Regions from separate parts of the Homo sapiens genome. Here regions 1, 2 and 3 are each linked to region 4. Evidence: promoter capture Hi-C in 16 types of primary human blood cells and fetal thymus (Javierre and others, 2016). All regions are on one chromosome and are shown on one strand. Each heading gives the region's core, a stretch centred on a gene start or on the middle of the fragment in contact. The rest is flanking DNA. Distances are from core to core; before and after follow the strand shown.

Region 1 (3,489 bases), core at 965-3,464, 170 kb after region 4:
CCTCTTCCTTTGGGGCCAAGCGTTGCAACAATTCTGCTGCTACCAGTTCCTGGTGGTTTCTCTGAACTCCGCCCATGCCTTGGGAACCGGTCTAGTGACCTTCCTCAAAGTGCTCTACTATGTGCCGTATCTTTCCTGCTGAGACCTCCACTGATAAAGTAATTGTTACTGAAAGTGGTCTTCAAATAAATCCTCACGAAGGGAATCTGGGATTCGGTTGTTCATCTATTCTGGGAGCACTGGGATAGTTGCCTTTCTGGGTGTGAGGGTGTGAGTCTGTGTGTGTGAATAAGGATAATCCACAGCATTCATGATTATACATGATACTGGCAGTCCCACTGAACAACGTGCCGGGGAGTTGGGGTGTGGGGTGCCCACTGGGAGAAGAGGGTGTGGCAATAACAGTGCCTACCAAAGCTGTGAGGTCAGGTAGATTCTTCCTATGTCCTTAGAGAGCATATAGAAGGGGAAAAAGAAATTGAAAGCTATAAACATTCAACTAGTAATACACAAGGAGAACCAGAAGGCCCCCATGGTAGCCCCAGGGTGTGATTTTTTAAGATTCCTGAGTCAAAGAGTCATTGATGCTCAACGGCTCCAGGTCTCTTACAGTTTTAGGAAGGTGAGGAAGAAGTGTCCGCAGGGCAGGGAAGACAGTGGTTTTGGCAGCGAACTCTCACCCACCATCTGCAGAGACAACTCTCCCAACACGTAGGAGGAAACAGGCCTCCTCTGCACAAAGCCTTCCCAGGCTGCTCCTGGGGCTGCTGCCTTGCAAGCTGGTGCCCTTTCTCCACAGACTCACCCACATCCTGCGCCACCTGGGCCCATAAAACAAGGCAGACCCCAAGGCACAGGAACTGCGTCAGAAGGAGATGTCCACTGTGTGGGGGCAGGAGCCTGGGAGGTGGGCTCCAAGCGGGACGAAATGCAAGTAGGTCATATGTACCCACACGTGTGGACAAGGTGGTTCCCTCACAATTTGGTCATTTAATGTGAACCTTGAACATCGAGGGGTGTGTATAGTCTACAAGATTGGCTAATCCAAGTCTAGAATTAATAAAAACCAATCGCTGATGAGGTCAGTATGCTGGACCTCCGGGACATCCTGCAGAGCTGTGGTTCTCCAGCCCCAGACGGTTTATTAAAGCCAGATTGTTGGGCCCTCTCCCGGAGTCTGTGATCGAGCAGGCTGTGGTGGGGTCCAAGGATTTTCATTTCTAACAAGGTCCCAAATGTAGCTGCTGCTGGTCTGCTGGGAATGCAGGGAAATGGGAGGCTGGAGGGATCTACTGCGTGACACCCTGTTAAGCCACCTGGCCTATACTCCCTGGGGAGGCCTGGAGCTGGTCTCCTCACCAAGGGGTTAGGAAAATGCCTGGGGGAGGGTCAGCGTCCTCCTAAAGAAGTCCATGGAGGCTGTCCGCTCTATCCCGCCGGTGACAAGGGATGCTCCCACAGCACCAGGTTCCCACTCTCCACGGGAACTGCGGGATCCTGGGTAGTAGGGGCCAGCGGCGGGCATACCAGAGTGATCACCTAAGCAAGGGGACAGAGGCTACTCAGTGTACTTGACTCGCAGGACCTGGGGAGAGGCTCCAAGATGAAAAAGAGGGCAAGCCTGATCAGATGCCGCTTGACACACAGAAGCTGGGACCTACTGGGTCTGCTGAGCAGAACCATAGTGGGGATTTGCAACATCATCCAGTGTCCAGACCAATGACGGGGAGGCTGGGACCCTTTAAGAAAGGGCCCTGCGAGGGGCAATCAGCGTGTGTGGTGAGCCTGTCCTCAGCCTGTCCTCACACGTTCCCCAGACTCGCATGGCCACTTGTTGCCAGGCGGCTGTGTGCTGGGGACAGGGACACACGCTGACCTCCCACTGGCTACTAAACACAGGCCCTAAACCCGCACTGATTCTACAGCCCTGATGTGCTACTGAGACGCACAGGTCCTGAGCTGGGTGGAAACAGCACGTCTTGTTCTGCTCATGGAAACAGGACCATCTGATGGTACGTCCAGTGCAGCTCAGCCCCTCCTGAGGTCATTCCCCAGCTCCAGAGCAGAGTGTGCGGACACACCCAGGAACGGCTGAGGCTCCACTCTGGCTCTGAGCTGGCGGGATGAGGGCTATTAGAAGAGGACAGAGGGGCCACCTGTTGCCTTCTGAGACACTGACTAGCACTAGAGGAGATCTTTCTGACTGTGGGGTAGGAAGGATTTCTTAAACAAGAACAGAGGAAGCGCTAACTGAAGGAAGACAATGGTGTCCTAAGAGATGGGGCCGTGAGGGGGACATTGGTAATGATCTAAGGCACCTGAACTACACGTGATGCCGCACGGTATTACTTCAAGGTGGACTTAAATCAGTTAAGTATGAACTGTATTGTAATCTTTAAGGAAACCACTAAAAAAATTTTAAGAGAAGTATAATCGACACATTAAGCAAGGAGACAAAATGGAATTATCTAAAAGGCTCAATGAAAACCAGAGAAGGCAGAAAGGAGTGGGGTTGGGGAGGGGCAGGGGTGCGGAGAACAAATGTAACAAACAGAAAAGTTACAAACACGGTAGATACTGATCCAACAACGCCAGCAAGGACTTTAAATGTGAATGGTCTCAACACACCAATCAAAAGACAGAGAATGTCAGAGTGGATTAAAAAAACAATGTCCGTGCTCCAAAGGACACCATCAAGAAAGTGAAAAGACAACCCAGAGAAGGATGACAATGACTGCAAGTCACGTGTCTGATAAAGGACTCGTATCTAGAATATACAACAATAAAAGCCACATAAACCCACTAAACATGAACAAAAATCTGAGCAGACGGTTCTCTAAAAAAGAGACACAAATGACCAAAAAGCACAGGAACATACGTTCAACGTCATTAGCCGTAAGGGAAATGCAAACCACTCCATCTATGAGATGGGTGCAGAAAAAAAGACGCATCATCACAAGTGCTGATGAGGATGTGGTGACACTGGAACCCTCAGACATGGCTGGTGAGACCGTGAAGGGTGGGTCCACAGCCTGGCAGTTTCTCAGAAATGTAAACATAGAGCTGCCATATGACTCAGCCACTCCACAGCTAGATAAGCTCCCTAGAAAGGTAAAAACATACGTCCACATACAACTTGCACGTGAATATCCACAGCAGCGTTATTCACAACAGCAAAAAACCTGGGAACAACCTAAATGTCCATCGGTTGATAAATGAGCAAACACAATGTGGGCAATTCATTACAGTGGAATGTTATCTGGTGATAAAAATCATGACATATTAATACATGTTATAAAATGGATGAACCTTGAAAACATGCTAAGTCAAAGAAGCCAGATACAAAAAGACCCTATTATTACTGTATGATTCCATTATATGAAATGTCCAGAATAGGCAAATCTAGAGAGACGGAGAGTAGATGAGTGGCTGCTTAGGGTTAAGGGAGTGGGGTAGATGGGGACTGACTGCTAAGACGGGGATAGCATT
Region 2 (3,524 bases), core at 355-2,854, 170 kb before region 4:
TCACTTCTATTAAATTCTGAGAATAGGCAAATCCATGAAGACATAGACTAGTGGCTGCCCAGGGCTGAGGGAAGTGAAGAGTGACTGCTCGTGGTATGGGGTTTATTTTTCAGGTGACAAAGATATTCTAGAATTAGATAGCAGTGAAAGCTGTACAACCTTGTGAGTACGGTTAAAGGAAAAAGAAAAAGCAAACACTGAATTGTATACTTTAAAACAGTGAATTTTATGGTATATCAATTATATTTCAGTAAATGAGACAAAACATCTGCAAAAGATAAAACTTGGGCAACTACTATATTTTCTCTAATATTTAATTTTCTTGATTTGTTCCTTAGTTTTAAATTAATAATTTAAAAAGAACATGTTTCCAATTTTAAATATATCATTCCAATGTAGTAAAATATTTCATATATGAACTAAAATGTCCCCTCACCTTGCAGTTTGTGCTCTTGTACTGTTTTTTGGGGTTGTTAGTTTGTTTTTGAGACTGAGTCTCACACTGTCACCCAGGCTGGAGTGCAGTGGCGCGATCTCGGCTCACTGCAACCTCTGCCTCCTGAGTTCAAGGGATTCTCCTGCCTCAGACTCCCGAGTAGCTGGGATTACAGGCGGCTGCCACCACGCCCAGCTAATTTTTTGTATTTTTAGTAGAGACAGGGTTTCACCATGTTGGTCTGGCTGGTCTTGAACTCCTGACCTTGTGATCCGCCCACTTCGGCCTTCCAAAGTGCTGGGATTACCGGCAGGCATGAGCCACCGCTCCTGGCCTCTTATACTGTTTTAAATGTTAAACACAAACAAGACTTCAATGGTCACACAGAATACAGAATTGAAGTAACTTAAGTTCCGAATCTTCCTCTTTCCGATCACTGTGCTATTGTTGCTTCGTCAAATCTGCTGTTTAAATGTAGGAATTCACAGCACCCTGGGGCACTGGAGACGTGAATGATGTCCAAAGTGGCTTCAGACGGCTCACAACTTACTTTTGAAAAGCACATTTCTGGACCGACTTTATACCTGGGAGTTCTGAAATTAACTTTCACTTGGAATACAAAGCTTATCAAAGGATAATAAATAAAATCATGTTGATTTGAAGTATATATATATATACATAAACCCTCACAATTGTTTAGAATTTAGATCAACAAAATATTTTCCCTGGCAGGAGTATTTAATCATGCCTGGTAATTAGAAAAACAAACAACAGCAACAAAAACACCAGTCGTCTGACTTAGTAGATTTTATTATTGTGACTTCAGTGACAGTGTGTCACCTCGCTGCCTGAACCCAGGCCCACAGCTCCCACTACCCCGCCCTCACTTTCTATTTCCCTAGCGCTTTGAAGATTCCATTTTACCCACCGCAGGAGAACATTATGAGGCTAGGTAATATAATCCCCATTTGACAGATGAGAAAGCAGGGGGCCCAGAGAGGCTTATCCAAGGGCCAGCAGGAGGGGACAGAGCCTAGAAGCTGGTTCTGCAGGGCTCAGCTCCCACTTCTCAGGGCACAGTCCCGACTAGCCCCTCTTATTAGTGACCGTGGGTGGGTCTACTCCCCACAGTTCCGGCTGCCAGACTTACCCAGGCTGTGCCTCATCCTCGCAGTACCTACCTGCTCTCAGCTTGGAAAGAACCTGGAAATTCATTCACACCCAGGTTCTGAGGGCTGCTAACAGGCTTCTTTCCCAAGAGGTAATTGCCTTTATCAAAGAGGGTGCTCTTTAATGAGCTGAAAGAATGCCTCTGCAAGTCGGGCCTCCTCCCTAGGCTGCTGGGATCACTGGTACACATCTGTTCTCCCCCATCTCACCTCAGGAGTAGTTTGCTCCCCAGGGAGGAGCCCTGCCTGAGAGTAAATCCAAAGAGACGTCCCACAGTTAACTCAGCCTCAAAAGCATTTGGAGTTGCAAACTAAATGACATAGTCTCATGACTTGTGTCTGATTCTGTGGATCTAAGAAAATCCAGTTTCTCCCTAACTAACGCCAGCATCCTACAGCCTAGCCTCTGCCTGGTGAACACAGACAGCCTTGCCGGGGCCTGGCAGAAGGAGTGCTAAGAGGACAGGGCCTCACAGACCCTAGAAGTGGGTCTCACCCTTCTCAGCTCACTCAGATGCTTTGTCTCCAGAGTTCTCAGATTTACAAAGCTTAATGAGTGCCAATTTACTCATTATTGTCCTCCCAGGCCTCACAACGCATTAAAATCCTTCTGCACAGACAGATTAGGAGACAAGCCTAAGGAAAACGTACATCTGCTTTAAAAAAAAAAAAATGCAGTTTCAGGTTCCACTTTACATCAGCCAGGGTTTAGTTACAGGAAACAGAAACCACTCTAACAATTTTAAGCAAAAAGGGGTTTAGACAGGAAATTAGGGGCTTACCGTTTTATTGAGAGGCATGGGCCAGGCCTATTGGCGTGGTGCCCGGAAAAAGGCCTGGGGACCAGCCGGCTGGGCTCTGCTAGCCTGACTCCACTCAGCCAGGTGGGGGTCGGGAGGCTCCCAGTGCTGTACCATACCTGCCTCTTGACCCCACAAAGGGACTGAATGGACCCTGGAACGCTGCCACAGGAAAAACAACCACCACAACTTTGCTCGCCAGCAGAAACGGCCAAAAGCAGCAGGAGGAGAGTCTTGGCCTCTGAATCATAGTGGTGTGCGAAGAATTGGCAGGACTATGGATGTGCTGGAGCTGGCTCAGCCTAGTGACAGCCAACGGTGCACGGCAATTCCAATTCCAGGTCCAGGGACACCAGGGGATAGCAAGATTGAAATTGACCACAGTGGATATATTTACACCATGGAAATCAGCAAGCACTAACAGCCGGGTTGCTTTTGTTTTGTGTTGTTTTTTTGTTTTTTTTTGAGAGCTGGTTGTTAAACATTGACCACCGGGCATAACCCATTTCACATTTAGAACTCTAGCGGCAAGGGAAGCGGGAAAAGCAGTGGCTCACCTTCCAGCCTTTGAAGGAACAGCGAGGAGAGCACACAGAATGCTAGCTGCCAAGCCGTCCTCCATGACACACACTCCTAGGAATGTACCCTGCAGTAAATTTGCACATGTGTGAGGGATGAATGGCTGCTGATGCTGCACTTTGCTAGTAATTACGTGGAAGCAACATTTCTTAACGCAATTGCTCTTGAGCATATGTGAAGTTTATTAACCCTGGAGCTAGGGAATTGGCAAGGGGACAGAAGAGTGGGTTGGTTCAAAGATGGCTTGGAAATTGTTGATTTGTATCTACAGGGGGGAAAGAATGCTTGCATAAGCAGCTAATTAAGAAGAGGCAGCTAATAAGGTCAAGCTTACAGTTTCATTTAACATGATCGTTAAAACGTCATTTCCCTATCGGCTGGAACAAGCGAGGTTTGAGGCACAGTAATCTTGGGGGTGATTTCTAGAGAGGCCAACCTTTCATCCGAAATAATAAGAAACACATCCAAGGTGCACTTCATCTGTGGCTCTTAATTAGACAAAGCTACACGGTTTTGTGCCCCAGCTGAGCTGGACGAGAG
Region 3 (3,538 bases), core at 1,039-3,538, 240 kb after region 4:
CTCAGCGCTGTCCTGGGGCCAGTGATTCGGCCTCCGGGCCCCAGCTTCATTGTCTGGGTCTTCCTGGCAGGGCAGTGGCGAGGAGTTCTACGAGCTAACGGGAGTGGAATGCCTGCCCTTTCTCATCTCCCTGACGTGAATCAGTTTCTCCAAGTTCTTCACCTAACAGAGCAGAAATGGTGACTCGCGGCCACACCCGGGGCTCTTAGTCTTGGAGGCCTGTCCCCGCCCCATCTGCTGCTGCCCACAGGGAACCCTCCTAGAGCCGTCACGGGGCATAAGGCCCAGGGGGCCTCGCGAGCTGATCTTTCCTGTGCGGAGCCAAGGATGCAGCAGAGGGTGTGCTCACGGCGAGGTGTCCCTCTCCGGAGGCAGCTCTTCAGGGTTTGGCAGAGGAGAGGAGCGCAGTGACCACCCAGCACTGCCCTAAGGTTTGCAGGCACCCGGGAGGGACAATGGCTCCATGGCGGGCGGAGGCCGAGAAGCACTTGGCAAGCTAGCTGGTCCCATCTCTGGATCCTAAGACATTCCCTTCTGCTGTTATTCCCAGCTGAGGAAGGCCGCCGGGATCAGTCGATCACTTGTGTTCCTAAAATGTGCTGCCTGCAGATGCCGTTCTGACAAATCTGCAGGGGCCACAGTGAAGCTCTGCAGGCTTGCCTTCTGCCTCTGGGGATGGCACTCTCATCCCATCCTGGAGTTACTGCCCGGGCTCCCCTCTCATGCTGGCCCCACCTGTGCCCCAAACACAGCACTCCTTACACGGCCCTCTCCCTTGCCATCTGATGGCTGGATGATCAGGAGGGAGCTTCTGAGGGCTGCCTTTCCATGCCATTTAATGGGGAAGGAAGGGGCTTTCTCTCCACTTTTTCTTGCTTCCCATTTAGTGTGTTCTTTCCATTTACACAATGTGTTCTCCAATCTTGGATAGCTTCTGTTCTTATTTAAACTTTTTAAAAAGGGATTCATACTCAACATACAAATGAGGAATGCAGCTGAAACTGGGAGACGTGAGGAGAAGCTTTTTTTTTTCAAGTCAGTGCAAATATTTTTGGAATTTAATTTTCCTTAGAAAAAAATGCCTTGCAGACAGAGCGTCTGCATCCTGTGTTTGAGCACCAGTGGTCTCTGGTGTCTTTATTTGTAAACTCAACATGATGATATATGACCTCACAAACCCTGACTTCCCCCCTAGCAAAATTAGAACAGTGGCTCCTCTCTTCCTCCAGCCAGTACTTCCCCTCTCCTTCCCCCTCTCTTCCTCATGCCTCTACCCTTTCCTCCCTTTCATCTTCTTGTTTGGTTGTGGGCAAATATGATGACACCCTTATAGGAAAGACTTAGAACTAACAGACAAGGAAAGTCTATAAAGCAAGCCTGTGCCACTTAATTGCAAAGCACATTTCAGCCCAGGCATTCTGAAGGGACACAGACAGAGGAGAAATGCTATCCACTCAGAGAAAGCAGAGATACAGGAGAGCAGTATGAAAGGCAGGCCACCATGCCACCATGTATGTTCAGCCTCTGGGACATAGTCTTCTTACTGGACAGATGGTTAAAATGGTGGCAGATAAATAAATCTCCTTTCCAAGTCATTCAGGCCAACCCCAGGAGGATCAAGCCATATATATGCCTTGTGGAGGGACCATCTTCCCTTGTGACCAGTGCTGTCTGGCCAGCAGCTGTCCCCATTACTGTCCCCAGGAAACCCCAGGTTGGGGGTGAAGGCAGCCAACAGTTTTCACGAGGTGGGTTGTGGTGATAGGGCCCTTGGGCAGAGCCATGGTCTACCATCTTTTGATTTTCCCTCATGGATGTTGTAAAACCCTTAGAGTTCCAACCACAAGTTATTGGTTAAACGATGATATTTCCATACGTGTGTGAACCATACAGCTATTCAAAGTGAGTACTGGCATGGTTAACCATTAATAATGCGTTTGGGAAAAACACAGGCTAGAAAACACATCTTTAGTGATAAAAGTCAGAGAGTGTGCAAGCGTGGGGAAAAGGGTGGGTATTGACCAGCAAGGGGCATAGGGAACCCTCCAGATGCCAGAAATGTTCTCTGTCTTGATGGGTGGGGGGATACAAAGGATTATAGACTTATCAAATCATTGAGCTGTATACTCAAGATTTGAGCCCTGCATTGTGTGAATGTTATACCTCAATAAAAGGGAAGCTGTAAGTGTAGCATGAAAATATTATGAAATTTTAACATGGCAGATTGTGTTTTCCAAAAATGGCCATAGCAGTATTTCTGGTCCTGAATGCATTTCCAGAACTCTGCCACTCTCTGTCCGAAGGCGGAGTGTCTCTTCCCTCCCCTTGAGCCTGGCAGGTCTCTGCAACTTTCAGCTAAAATGAGGTGGTAAAGGAGACGCCCATTACTCCTGAAGTTAGGTCAGAAAAGCTGCTTTTGCCTGGCTCTCTCTATCTCTTGGGACACTTGCCCTCGGAACCCAGCCACCATGTTGTGAGGAAGCCCTGGCCGCTTGAAGAGGCCAACAGCACCAACTGGCCACCAACACCCAGCACTGGCCTGAACGAGGCTTCAGATGATACTGACCCTCCTAGTGTCTCTGCTGAGACCCCAGACGTTACTGGGCAGAGAAGAACCATCCCCATTGCACACAACCAAGTTCCTCTCATAGGATAATAGATGGTGGTTTTATGCCACTCTGTTTTGGGGATAGTTTGTTACACAGCTATTGTAACTGGAAGTGTGTGCACATGTACGTGCATGCTTATGCCCACACACAGGAAAATTTCTGAATATCTGGACAGAGGAATTGGAGTTGCTGTTCATTTGTTTTCGCCTATTCTCTAATGTTTCACCAATAAGCTGGTACTATTCATGTAATAAAAATAAAACTGAAACAACGTGAATAAACTTCTCAAATGGAAACAGGACCGCGGCGGGGATTCAAGCATACTGTGCCAGGTCAGCCTGTGCCCTGCTGCCCTCCGGGCGCTGGGACAAGTCCATGGAAGTGTTGAGAAGGACGGAGTGAGCTCTGGCCGAGAGGACGCTGCTGCAACCCTGCTTCCAGCTGGAGTGGCTTCTGCACCTGTGTTTGTTGAACAGCAAGCAGCCTTCGTGGAAGGGGTTCGGGTGCGTGTGTCTGTGTCTGCAGAGGTGGAAGGGGGCCCCTGGTAGGCCAATAATGCATTCCTGGCAAAACTTTTTCTCTCCAGATTCCAAAAATCAAATTAATTAAGGGGTAGCCTCGAACGCTACCTCTAAGAACAGTATTAAAATATTCATATAAACGCCCACATCTTGAGTTTTAGGAATGCAAATCACCGGGTGATGATTCAAAGAGACTTCAACACAAAATACAGTGTGTTCCACATGCCCCTGGCCATGAAATAATAACAGTCAGGTCCAGGGCCTGCCTTGCAGTATGTGGAGAAGCAACGGGCCCTGGCCACTGATTCCTGAAGCCAGGGTGGTGTCTTGTACGGACACTTCATTATCCCTGTCCCTGCCTCCCACTTCCTAAAGCTCCCTCTAGCATCCCACCCTCTGCAGTGTTCA
Region 4 (3,273 bases), core at 100-2,599:
CTGCACATGCTCCATAAAGAGAAATGGCAGAGATCATCAAAAGTGGTGAGTTGGGCCGGGCGCAGTGGCTCAAGCCTGTAATCCCAGCACTTCGGGAGACCAAGGCGGGCGGATCACCTGAGGTCGGGAGTTCGAGACCAGCCTGACCAACATGGAGAAACCATGTCTTTACTAAAAATACAAAAAATTAGCCGGGCGTGGTGGCGCATGCCTGTATTCCCAGCTACTCGGGAGGCTTGAGACACAGGAATCACCTGAACCGGGGAGGCGGCGGTTGCAGTGAGCCGAGATCACGCCACTGCGCTCCAGCTGGGGCGGAAAGAGCGAGACTCCATCTCAACACAACACAACACAAAACAGTGGGATTTCCCAAAGGTCGGCAAGAAATCTAAGCAGATCCCGCAGCGATGCTGCTCCGAGGCCATAGGTCCCCATGGGAACAAATCTCAGGCTACGACAGCATGGTCTTATCCTCAGAGAAGTTGCTCTATCACGTCCCTTTTAAAGCCGTCTCCTGAAATGCCAACTAGCTAGCTGCCCTCCCAGTATCTTACCAAGTCTTGCTAAGGTTGAAATAGTACAGGAATCTGAATAATTGCGAGCGCTTCCACAACTTACACACAGCACCCGGCGGTGCAAGCCTGGGTGACACAGTTCAATTTTTAAAACGTCTTCATATAGGGGAAACGCCAGACAATTAAAGCTACTAAGTAGAAAATACTGGAGGAAACAATCGCGGTTGTTCGGGGACTTAGTTTCCTCCCTCACATTAGGAATAATGAACACATATCCTATCTACGCTCAAAATATCATCTGGCGGCAAGTATTAAGAACCAATCCCGCGCCCTGCACTTGCGTTACAACCATTAATGAGCCGCTCTTCCGGGCCCTCAAACAGCCAGCGGCGAAACAGCCAAGCAAGGCCTAACAGGGCCCCACGAGGACGCACCAGGAAGTAATGAAGTCACCCGTGCCTGTCAAGAGGCACGGCGCTAACAGAAGGCTCCCAGGAGCTTAACCGGATGCTCATCTGGCAACAACGGCAAGAATCAGGCCCGGCGTTCCCTGCGCAGCCCGGTCGGAGCCCAGACAACCGGCCCGCGGGCCAAGCTCCGGCCTTCGGTGCACGCGGCAAAGCGCGGAAAATAAGGCGGCTCGGTGCCGCCTGGGGACTGGCCGCCCACGCCCCCGGACTCACCCCGGAGGTCCAGCTCCCGGTCGCGCACCGCGTTGGTGTACTGCGCCGCCTGCTCGATCAGCTCCGCCGTCAGCTTGACCATCCTGCAGCCTCCCGTTCCCCCGCGCTGTGGAAAGCCCGTGGCCTCCCGCCAGCGAGACGTCCCAGCGTGCCCCGCGCCCCGCCGCCAGGCAGCACCAATCGCAGCCGCCGAGTGCGCGCGCAGCTCGACCGCCAGGCCGAAGCAATCGAAGAGCCACGCCTCCGGGGGCGTTCTTGCCGGAAGTCGTGGCGCGCGCACAGGGGATGTGTCTCGTTCTGGGTTGTTTCCTAGGGTGTGTTTCGGAGTCTGGAGGACCCCTGATTCCAGACGTTGGTGTTTAAAAGTTAAGGCGAATGTGGAAACACCCGAGGGGAACTTTCTCATGCATTAGCGCACCTCGAGGTGGGAGGGGAAGCGGTGACTGTCCTCCCTCCACCAGCCGTCGCGGGAACCCGTGGGGTTCAGTGAAGGGTCCAGCAGTTCAGGTGCCCGCCCCGGGCCTGGGCCTTGGCTCCGGGCTACAGTGTGAGATCCCGGGCTAGGTGGCCCGCCTGGGGCAGGTCGCCGGGACAACCCCACCGCCCCGCAAGTCCAGCCCGGCCTCGGGCACGGTAGGGTTTGCGGTTAAGCTTGTGACCTTTAGACTTCTGAATATTCATATGTATGAAATGTGATATACATAAAAGTGTGCATATCAGGAATTTACAGTGATTAATGACCAGAGTGAACACAGCTGCGTAGCCGACACCGGGATCCAAAACACCGCTATTCTGAAAGCCTCCCTCTTTCCCAAAAGGCAACCGCGAACTCAACACTACAAATTCGGTTTGCTTGCTTTTGCTATAAATAGAATCATGCAGTATGCTTTTTTTTTTGGCCTAGTTTCATGGAGTCTATATTATGTCTGGAGTCCATCCAGGTTGCATACAGAGATGGTTTGTTTGCTTTTGCTGCTGAAGAGAATTCCATTGTATATATTATACCATAAATTACTTATTCTGCTGTTGATAGACATCAAAGTTGTTTTCAGTTAGGGCTATTCTGAGTAATGCTACTATGAATTTTCTGGTACGTGGTTCTGATGCACGTTTGCATGAGTTTGTCCTGGAGTGGGACTGCTGGGACATAGGGTATATCTATCATCAATAAGTAATGCCCAACAGTTATGCTAAGAGGCTGAAATAATATACACACTCCAGCGGTGTGTAAGGGTTTTCATGGCTTCCAGCTTCAGCCTTCTTGGCATTTTAACTCTATAACTTCAGCTATTCTGATGGGTGTGTGGTGGTATTGCACTACTGCTTTGCTTTGCTTTTCTCTAATAACTAATGAAGCTGAGAACCTTCTCATGTGTATGGTGCCCATTCTGATAGCTTCCTTGGTTAAGTGTTCTTTCGAGTCCCTGGCTCATTTTTTTTTTTTCCTTATGGAGTTGTCTGCCTTTTTTCTTATTGATTTGTGGAATTTCTTTATATATTAGGGATATGAACACACTCTGTGGCTTGCCTTTTCACTCTTAATGGTGTTGATGATTAGATTTTTTTTTTTTTTTTTTTTTTTTTTTTTTAGACAGGGTCTCACTCTGTCACCTAGGCCGGAGTGCAGTGGTGCCATCAGGACTCACTGCAGCCTTGACCTCTCAGGCTCAAGAGATCCTCCCACCTCAGCCTCCCAAATAGCCGGGACTATAGGCACAGGTCAACAGGCCTGGCTAACTTTTGTATTTTTTGTAGAGACAAGGTTTTGATATGTGGCCCAGGCTGGTCTCCAACTCCTGAGCTCAAGTGATCCACCTGCCTCAGACTCCCACAGTGCTGGGATTACAGGCGTGAGCCGCCTCGCCTGGCTGAGAAGTTTCCAAGTTTTATGTAGTTCAATTATTTTCTTTAGGTTAGTGGATTGGGTGTGTGTGCATGTGCATGTGCCTTAGGAAATCTTCCCTTACCCCCATCATATTTTCCTATGTGGTCTACTAGACGATTGTTTTGCTTTTCACATTTAGTTCTGCAATCCACCCGGAGATGATTCTCCTTGAACTTTTATTGAAGTATGA

The links. The method cuts DNA at HindIII sites, captures the fragments that hold promoters and counts their contacts. A CHiCAGO score of 5 or more calls a contact.
Region 1: a fragment that was not itself captured here is called in contact with the fragment with the promoter of SNRPA1 in region 4 in 2 of 17 cell types (megakaryocytes and M0 macrophages); the score reaches 5.6 in megakaryocytes.
Region 2: a fragment that was not itself captured here is called in contact with the fragment with the promoter of SNRPA1 in region 4 in 2 of 17 cell types (total B cells and naive B cells); the score reaches 6.6 in total B cells.
Region 3: a fragment that was not itself captured here is called in contact with the fragment with the promoter of SNRPA1 in region 4 in 1 of 17 cell types (M0 macrophages); the score reaches 5.6 in M0 macrophages.

Annotation. Positions count from the first base shown.
Region 1 is chr15:101,463,401-101,466,889 of GRCh38, forward strand. All of the region lies in intron 1 of PCSK6 (proprotein convertase subtilisin/kexin type 6), which reads right to left. It overlaps LOC124903566, which reads right to left. Exons shown (of 2, transcript XM_047433427.1): 2 at 1-3,489. Among named protein-coding and RNA genes, the nearest start is that of PCSK6, 25 kb to the right of the region's middle. The HindIII fragment of the contact is 7,610 bases long and covers 1-3,489 here.
Region 2 is chr15:101,125,337-101,128,860 of GRCh38, forward strand. The region is part of intron 1 of LRRK1-AS1 (LRRK1 antisense RNA 1); the gene reads right to left. Among named protein-coding and RNA genes, the nearest start is that of LRRK1-AS1, 25 kb to the right of the region's middle. RefSeq lists a silencer at 1,520-1,569 and enhancers at 1,860-1,909, 2,200-2,309, 2,520-2,689. The HindIII fragment of the contact is 1,094 bases long and covers 1,058-2,151 here.
Region 3 is chr15:101,536,685-101,540,222 of GRCh38, forward strand. No RefSeq gene overlaps it. Among named protein-coding and RNA genes, the nearest start is that of PCSK6, 49 kb to the left of the region's middle. RefSeq lists an enhancer at 1-165. The HindIII fragment of the contact is 2,539 bases long and covers 1,020-3,538 here.
Region 4 is chr15:101,293,899-101,297,171 of GRCh38, forward strand. It overlaps SNRPA1 (small nuclear ribonucleoprotein polypeptide A'), which reads right to left and starts at 1,350. Exons shown (of 9, transcript NM_003090.4): 1 at 1,199-1,350. The coding sequence starts at 1,280. It overlaps SNRPA1-DT (SNRPA1 divergent transcript), which reads left to right and starts at 1,450. Exons shown (of 2, transcript NR_186319.1): 1 at 1,450-1,831. RefSeq lists enhancers at 304-935, 1,499-1,548, 1,609-1,698 and a silencer at 1,079-1,268. The HindIII fragment of the contact is 2,362 bases long and covers 1-1,847 here.